3 separate regions of the Homo sapiens genome follow, and all the other regions are linked to region 1. Evidence: promoter capture Hi-C in 16 types of primary human blood cells and fetal thymus (Javierre and others, 2016). All regions are on one chromosome and are shown on one strand. The core of a region is centred on a gene start or on the middle of the fragment in contact, and the rest is flanking DNA. Distances in the headings are between cores, read along the strand shown.

Evidence for each region. The method cuts DNA at HindIII sites, captures the fragments that hold promoters and counts their contacts. A CHiCAGO score of 5 or more calls a contact.
Region 2: a contact is called between a fragment that was not itself captured here and the fragment with the promoter of ERGIC2 in region 1, in 2 of 17 cell types (naive CD8 T cells and non-activated CD4 T cells). The highest score is 5.3, in naive CD8 T cells.
Region 3: a fragment that was not itself captured here is called in contact with the fragment with the promoter of ERGIC2 in region 1 in 1 of 17 cell types (total B cells); the score reaches 8.1 in total B cells.

The regions. Positions count from the first base shown.
Region 1 is chr12:29,379,822-29,382,521 of GRCh38, reverse strand. It overlaps ERGIC2 (ERGIC and golgi 2), which reads left to right and starts at 1,350. Exons shown (of 14, transcript NM_016570.3): 1 at 1,350-1,407. RefSeq lists an enhancer at 1,618-1,787. The HindIII fragment of the contact is 7,270 bases long and covers 1-2,700 here.
Region 2 is chr12:32,670,374-32,673,168 of GRCh38, reverse strand. No RefSeq gene overlaps it. Among named protein-coding and RNA genes, the nearest start is that of DNM1L, 7.5 kb to the left of the region's middle. The HindIII fragment of the contact is 1,077 bases long and covers 964-2,040 here.
Region 3 is chr12:32,762,217-32,764,916 of GRCh38, reverse strand. No RefSeq gene overlaps it. Among named protein-coding and RNA genes, the nearest start is that of YARS2, 7.7 kb to the right of the region's middle. The HindIII fragment of the contact is 2,225 bases long and covers 321-2,545 here.

The DNA.
Region 1 (2,700 bases), core at 101-2,600:
TATATTAATTTACTTAATCCTCGTAACAACTCTGAGATATTATCATGCCCATTTTACAGATGAGCAAATGGAGACACAAAGAGATGAAATAATGTGGTCAAGGTTACATGCTAGTAAGTTGCTGATCTGGAATTCTAACCCAGGAAGTCCTGTCTCCAGTGTCTATGATTTCACCCACTACACTATACTTCTTAAGCATGTCAAGAAAGTGAGAACTTTAAATTGATTTAATTAGACTAACTCTGAAAGTCTGAAAATAAAATTGATTCATTGGAAACTTTTCATCAGTCCTTATTTTGGGGGATATTCAATTTAGTGAAATTTAGTATTTCAGTAAAGGTTAATTCACTACATAAAACAATGTGATTTTTTTCCTTTGAGGCACAGTTTAGTATTGTGATCAAGATTTCCCTGACTCTCCCAGCGGTCTGAATTTGGGTAAATCACTTCACTACCCCTTGACTCAAATTCCGTATTTATAAAACAGGTAAATACTGGTATTATCTTCTAAGAGTGTTGTGAGGATACGCAGATTTTTTAAAAAAGCAGTTAAAGCCTTTAAACAGTAATTATAAGCAGTTGTCATAATTATGCCGTTGTTAGACTTCTAGGTCAATGAATCAGAAAATTTAAATCTCAATGTTTGATTATAAAATCTGGTAACAGATGGGTGAAAAGGAACCTGGAATGGGTTTACTCTCCAGGAGTTCACATTTAACTTTTCTTTCCGAAGTTCCGTCTATTAACTCCTGTTCTATGAAGTGGTAGAAAAAGATGAGGTATTAATTTTCTTTCTTAACAAATATTTGAAGGCATAGTTGGTGTTGGCGAAGGGAGATGAGGAAGACATATGTGCTTTCTTATGATATTAAAACCTGGAAGACAATAAAAACGCTGATCAAATAATAAAAAGCGTTACCTATGGCGGAAAAGGAAGCTCAAATGTTCTTGTCAGGGGAAAACGACACAAAAACTGAAAGAGGGAAACAAAACAATTGCACAGGTGATATGCATTAGGGTTGTTAGGGATAATTTCTGCGCCCAAGGCTCTTATTAGTAATGAAATACGGTGTGAGGAGCTGAGATTCGTTCTGCAGTCTCAGTGTTAGTCGGAAAGTAACCCCTCCCTTCCCATAGAAACAGAACCGGACTGGCGGCGCGATTACACCTAAAACAAGTTGCAACCTCATTTCCCTGTAGGCACGCCTCTTTTATCTTAACCACGCCTCTTCATTCCCTAAGCACGTCGTAAGCAAAGGGAATATCGCGAGATCTGTACATTGTCTCTTTTCTGACGTTTTCAGCTGTGATAGTCGCTTTTGTTCTCGCGATATTTCCGGGTACGCGGGAGCCCCGGCGACCCGGGCTTCTGTGAAACATGGCGGTAGGCTGGGACCATAACACAAGGTAAAATACTGAAACACCGCTGGGTGCTGTTCCCTCGGTTGTTCCAGGGCTGTTTAGGGCGTAAATGCAATTGAGGGAACTGGGAGCCTGTCATGGGCTTGGCTTCCTGTCTTCATTGATCTCTAGAGAGCCGGTCGGACGGAGAAGCCGCTCCACCTCCCACGGGGGCGTTACTGGCAGGACCCTAGGCAACGATGCTACTGGGAGCTTCCCTTTGCCAGGTCCGGGTGCTTGTGTGCTATCCTGCAACTCGAAGGAGTTCAGGTGCTTCCTCGATCGCACCTGATTCTGACCCTTTGCTTGTCACAGTGCCCGGTTCCCAGGTGGTTTCTCCAGTCCGCAGGCGAGTAGGATCCCAATCGGTCGAGTCCCAGTCCTCCCGGATGTCAGACTCCCTACCCCCATTCAGACAAATGCCACATTCGTGGCAGCACGTTGCCCTCTGTCTCTTTAAGAGTCTTGGCCTTGCCCGGAAGGAGTTTCGCACAGTGCTTCGGAAAATGAGAAGGGGGCGGGGGAGGGCGAGATGCTGAGAGACAGGTTCGACTGTCACTACTTTTCCTCGGCGCAGGAAACCTTCCGAAGGCAACGTGTCAACTCGTGGTGGAGAATAGCCTTGTTTATCTGTAGTATATAGAGTTGACAGGTCATTGTTTGAGAAAACACGTTTAAATAACTTTTATATTTTAGTGCCCCCGAGACTTAAAGACAAAGTGGCATAATAGCTGTTAAAATGTTGCCAGACTGGTTTTCAGAAGCAATGAAAGTTACAGTTAAAAACAGGATTTATTCATTTGAAGTTGTAATTCAGTATTTCAGTTAATTGCCTAGCCTGATACATTGGACTCCAGTATACAGCAATTATAAAGAATGAGCCTGGCTTGTTCACTGAAAAAAGACATGGTTATTTACCTAATTTGTTTGTTGATATCTTTAAGTTGTTGTAATTATGCCAGTTCTAGTGGAAAACATGAGGAAAAAAATTCTGATTTTTTGGGAGGGTGGGGGTTGGCGGTGCAGGGATGGATAGAGAGAGGAGGATTTTTTTTTTTTTTTTAAATGATGGTGAACTTTAGTATACAGTTGCGTGTTATAATGGCTTCCTGGTACAAATCATAAAAATATATCAAGTTTGAAAGATCTCTCAAAGGAAATCAGGCCTAGTCTGGAACAACGAGAGTTAGGGAAACAACAACAACCACCCACACATTTTCTTTCTTTGGGGATTGATGATTTAAGTGAAAGAAATGGCTATTTTTTTTTTCTTTACCAGAAGTTACTTTTAGGCAGTCA
Region 2 (2,795 bases), core at 253-2,752, 3.3 Mb before region 1:
AGCCTCCCCAGTAGCTGGAACTACAAGCGCACACCGCCTCGCCAGGCTAATTTTTGTATTTTTAGTAGAGACTGGGTTTCACCATATTGGTCAGGCTGGTCTTAAACTCCTGACCTCAGGTGATCCACCCGCCTCGGACTCCCAAAGTGCTGGGATTACAGGTGTGAGCCACCATGCCCGGCAGCAAACTCTCAACCGCTACACATTCTGCCTCGTGTATTTATTCCTTTCTTCATTAATTCAACACATATTGATGAAGTACTTGTTAGGCATACGGATCTTAGCCAGGCAGTATATTTTGCTGGAGAGTAGGGAGGAACCGTGGATATGGCACTAACATGCCCTCCCCCTTCACCAATAGTGAGCTCACGAAGGGCAGAAGTGATTATCTTATTTAGCTGGGTTCCCCCACTACCTCGTATGAAGCGTGTTACATAATATTAGTCTACTGGATATGGGGTTTTCTTTTCTTTTTTATTTGGAAAATCTGGAATAACAAGGATTTAAGCAGCTCTGAATTGATATAATTGCAACCAGGACTGGCAATCAAATCTCACCAACACATATGAGTCTGGCTTGGCATAGGACTCCTCATTAGAATAGATGCCAAGTTACTTAGCTAGGGAGTAGCCTGGCTTTGTTCTAACTTAAAATCCCGAATTAGAGGAAGTTTATTTTGGATTAAATTAATAACTGGAAATTAATCGATCTTGGAAAAGGTCAGACTGTTTTTATCGCATGTGTCCAATATCATTTTATGCCAACATTTTGATCATCAATCACAGCCAAGATGCCGGTATCTGCACCTTCAAATCATAGCGGTTAGTGGGGATCTAATGTTAATATAAAATATACAGCTCTGTTGGGGAAGCCTCTTTGTCATATTTTGGAAACTGCCCGTGTTTTGCAAAGATGATAAAGTAAACAGCTTTAATCAATTTGCTACTCCCCAGGCCTCAAGCTTAACACATACTTTGTTAGCAGGTGCAGGAAATTGTTTGCAGATGGTGGAATTGGCCAGATGGTTCAGAAGCCAGAAATTGAATCTGGTGAGATACTGACGGGACCATGAGAGGGCAGTGTGACAACACAATTAAGAGCAGTTAACGACAAAATAACTTGGGAGTTAAGATATGGTCCTGATTTCTTCCCTTTGCTCCACACCCACACCCCAATAGAACGTAGCCCTTCTTTTTATCCTCCTACCATCAAAATTTGTGGCATATTTTAGAAACTATTTGAGATAATAGAGTTATTTTATTTATATTTATATATTTATTTTTGAGATCAAGTCTCGCTCTGTAGCCCAGGCTGGAGTGCAGTGGCACAATCTCAGCTCACTGCAACCTCTGCCTCCTGGGTTCAAGGGATTCTCCCACCTCAGCCTCCCAAGTAGCTGGGATTACAATAGGCGTGGGCCACTCGCCAGCTAATTTTTGTATTTTGTTTATTTATTTTTTTGAAAGACAGAGTTTCGCTCTTGTTGCCCAGGCTGGAGTGCAATGGCATGATCTCAGCTCACCGCAACCTCTGCCTCCCGGGTTCAAGTGATTCTCCTGCCTCAGCCTCCCGAGTAGTTGGGATTACAGGTATGCACCACCACGCCCGGCTAATTTTGTATTTTTTTAGTAGAAACGGGGTTTCTCCATGTTGGTCAGGCTGGTCTCGAACTCCTGACCTCAGATGATCCGCCCTGAGGTGTTAGCTAGACATCCAAAGTGCTGGGATTACAGGTGTGAGCCACTGCGCCCGGCTGTATTTTCAGTAGAGACAGGGTTTTGCCATGTTGGCCAGGCTGGCCTCAAACTCCTGACCTCAGGTGATCCGCCCATCTTGGCCTCTGAAAGTGCTGGGATTACAGGCATGAGCCACCACGCCCAGCAATAGTGATTTTAAATTACAGCAGTGACAACTGAAAATTATATGTTAGACATCCCTGCATTTAAACTACTTCACTTGCCCCATTTCTCAAGCCTTCTCATTAGCCTCTTTACAACTCTACTCCAGGTTCTCAAATGTTGTTTGACATTCTTAGAAGCTTTTCATATCTCCCTTCTCTGTTTTTCTGTTTTTTGTCTCCCTCACACAAACTCAATTTGCTCATATTTGATGGTGAAGAGAAATTTCACTTTTAGCCCTTGGTTAGCTGCTACCTTTGCAGATCTAAAGGCTCCCTAGTACACTATGACAAACAAAAGGGACACCTACTCTGGGACGCAAGATCATGGGAAGCATGACGTGGTTCTGGACTTAATGGTTCTGATGATATTTTCCTGATTCTCAGATAACAGTCGAGATAAAAAGATCCCGAGAGCCAGCTGTCGCTTATGATAAATATACAGTAACTTCTGGTGTACTGATTTTGTGACATTGTTCGGGAAGTAATTCCTGGATGTCTAGCTAACACCTGTTTTTCCCAGGCACTCTAACAGATTTATAAGCATCTAATTTCCCATATTAAATATCTTTCGGGCCGGGTGTGGTGGCTCACGCCTGTAATCCCAGCACTTTGGGAGGCCAAACAGGCAGATCACTGAGGCCAGGAGTTCGAGACTAGCCTGGCAACATGGCAAAACCCCATCCCTACTAAAAATACAAAAATTAGCTGGGCATGGAGCTGCACGGCTGTAGCTCCAGCTACTCGAGAGGCTGAGGTGGGACAATTGCTTGAACCCAGGAGGCAGAGGTTGTAGTGAGCCGAGATTGCACCACTGCACTGCAGCCTGGGCAACCGAGCAAGACTGTCAAATGAATGAATGAATCTCTTTCTGCATAAACTTGGTGGTGGAATATAT
Region 3 (2,700 bases), core at 184-2,683, 3.4 Mb before region 1:
AGCCAGGCATGGTGGCACATGCCTGTGCTCTCAGCTACTCAGCAGGCCGAAGTGGGAGGAGCACTTGAGCCTGGGAGGTCGAGGCTGCAGTGAGCCGTGATCATGCCACAGCCCTCCAGGCTGGACATTGCAAGACCCTGTTTCAAAAATACCCATTTTTAAAATTAACTTGTTTTCCAGAGTAGAAATGTTAGATAGAATGTCTGTAAAATTTATTCCCAAAACAGGACATTTTCGAGAATAAAAGGGGTCATATAAATAATTAGGCTGAGACAAGAGGCATATAAACCAGGGCTACATTCACCTATTTACTGGAAGCTTTCTCAAATATATAGTGTGACATCATGTTACAAGTCCATTGGAAAGGTGTCTCAGTTGGTGCTATGTGCTAGATATTTGGTCACCATCTGACACCATTGTGTCCCTGATTGCCACTCCCCTGAACCTCCTTAAACTGTGCTTGGAGAAGAGTTACGTGAGACATACAATGGGAAGGGGCATGGGTGTCTAAGATTTCCTTTGGTTTTAGAAAAAAATAGCTATGAGAATACAGAGGAGTTGTTTTCATTTGCTATCTCTGTTAGTGACACCCTTCCAGGTCGGTCTCCCACCCACGGGCAGCTTTGAATGAGATCAATGGCAATTGAAACTGTTTGGATCTGAGCAAAGCTGCTTGGATTTTCACTGGATCTTTCTGCAAATATGATATATGTTTCATTGGTCAACTATCACTTTCTAAATCTTCAATCTTAATTTTTCAAAACTTGTCATAATACAGTTTCCCTCTAATAACAGCCATGTAAGCATGACTTAAACTGGCTTCTACTGCTTAAGCAAACCTCAGTAGAGGAGAAAATAGATGTATTTATTTATTTATTTTGTAATAGAGTCTTGTTCCGTCACCAGGCTGGAGTGCAGTGGCATGATGTCGGCTCACTGCAACCTCCGCCTCCTGGGTTCAAGCAATTCTCCTGCCTCAGCCTCCCAAGTAGCTGGGACTACAGGTGTGTGCCACCATGCCCAGCTAATTTTTTGTATTTTTTGGTAGAGATGGGGTTTCACCATGTTGGTCAGGCGGTCTCGAACTCCCAACCTCAAGTGATCTGCCTGCCTCAGCCTCCCAAAGTGCTGGGATTACAGGCGTGAGCCACTGCGCCCAGGCTTTTTTTTGTTTGTTTGTTTTTTTCTTTGAGAGGGAGTCTCACTTTGTCACCCAGGCTGGAGTGCAGAGGCATGATCTCTGCTCACTGCAACGTCCACCTCCCAGGTTCAAGGGATTCTCCTGCCTCAGCCTCTCAAGTAGCTGAGATTATGGGCGCCCATCACCATGCCCGGCTAATTATTTTTTGTATTTTAGTAGAGATAGGGTTTCACCATGTTGGCCAGGCTGGTCTCAAACTCCTGACCTCAAGTGATCCGCCATCTTGGCCTCCCAAAGTGCTGGGATTGCAGGCATGGGCCACTGTGCCTGGCCGATGAATACATTTTTAACCTCCTCCCTGGTGTGGTGGCTTAAATAATGAAGTTAAAGCTGAGAAACAATAAATGGGACTTTTGACTACTGTGATAGCAAACAGGCATTTCAGAATTGTAGAGGTGAATGAGATTTTAGAATTCATCTAATCCAGCCCATTTACTTTTTTTTTTCTTTTCTTTTCTTTTTTTTCTGAAATGGAGTCTTGCTCTGTCGCTCAGGCTGGAGTGCAGTGGCGAGATCTCAGCTTGCTGCAATCTCTGCCTCCCAGGTTCAAGTGATTCTCCTGCCTCAGCCTCCCAAGTAGCTGGGACTACAGGTGCCGGCCACCATGCCTGGCTAATTTTTTGTATTGTTAGTAGAGACAGGGTTTCACCGTGTTAGCCAGGATGGTCTCGATCTCCTGACCACGTCGTGATTTGCCTGCCTCGGCCTCCCAAAATGCTGGGATTACAGGCATGAGCCACCGCGCCAAGCCCAGCCCATTTACTTCTAAAATGAGGACACCAAGGCTAGTGTGTTAAATGACTTATCTAAGGAGGAACAGGTAGTCAAGGTTAAGCTGAGATAGCTACTCATGTCTGTGACTCCTAGTCCCATGGTCTTTGGACCACGACTCAGAAGCACATTTTGTTATGGTTGTGAGGATGAAGGAAGTAATATTTGACTTTTCTGCAAACATTATGTAAATACAAGGTATTTGTTCCCCTTATGATGTTACAGAACATTAATGAGTGAGATGTTTCCAGACTTATTTCTCATTTTGGTAACTAACCAGTCAGTGCTTATAACAGAAAAACATAAAGTCCGTATTGAAGACACTGAGAAAAAAAGACAAAAATAGTTTTAATCAAAATAGAATTGCTCTACAAAACATAGAATGATTGCTTATTGTTTTGTTTCTTCTCCAATGGAGATATAAATTCACTTGGCCTTGATGGAGGGACAATGATGAGTTGATTGATTCACTTCTACTCTGTCAGAGAGACCAGAAAATTACTAAGGTAACTTGATAAATAGGAAAATTCCAAAATGATCTTCACTGAAGACATTATCCATTTGATCTAAGCTTTTCAGATGCAATCACAATAGTGTCTCCAAGATCCTCTTTCTAAGAGGGAAGCCTGCTTTTCTCATCACATTAGCAAACAGCCAGGCGGATTCGTTGCTTGCCAGTCATGGCTGAATTACAGTCCCGACAACATGGCCTGGGAAAGAACATGCTG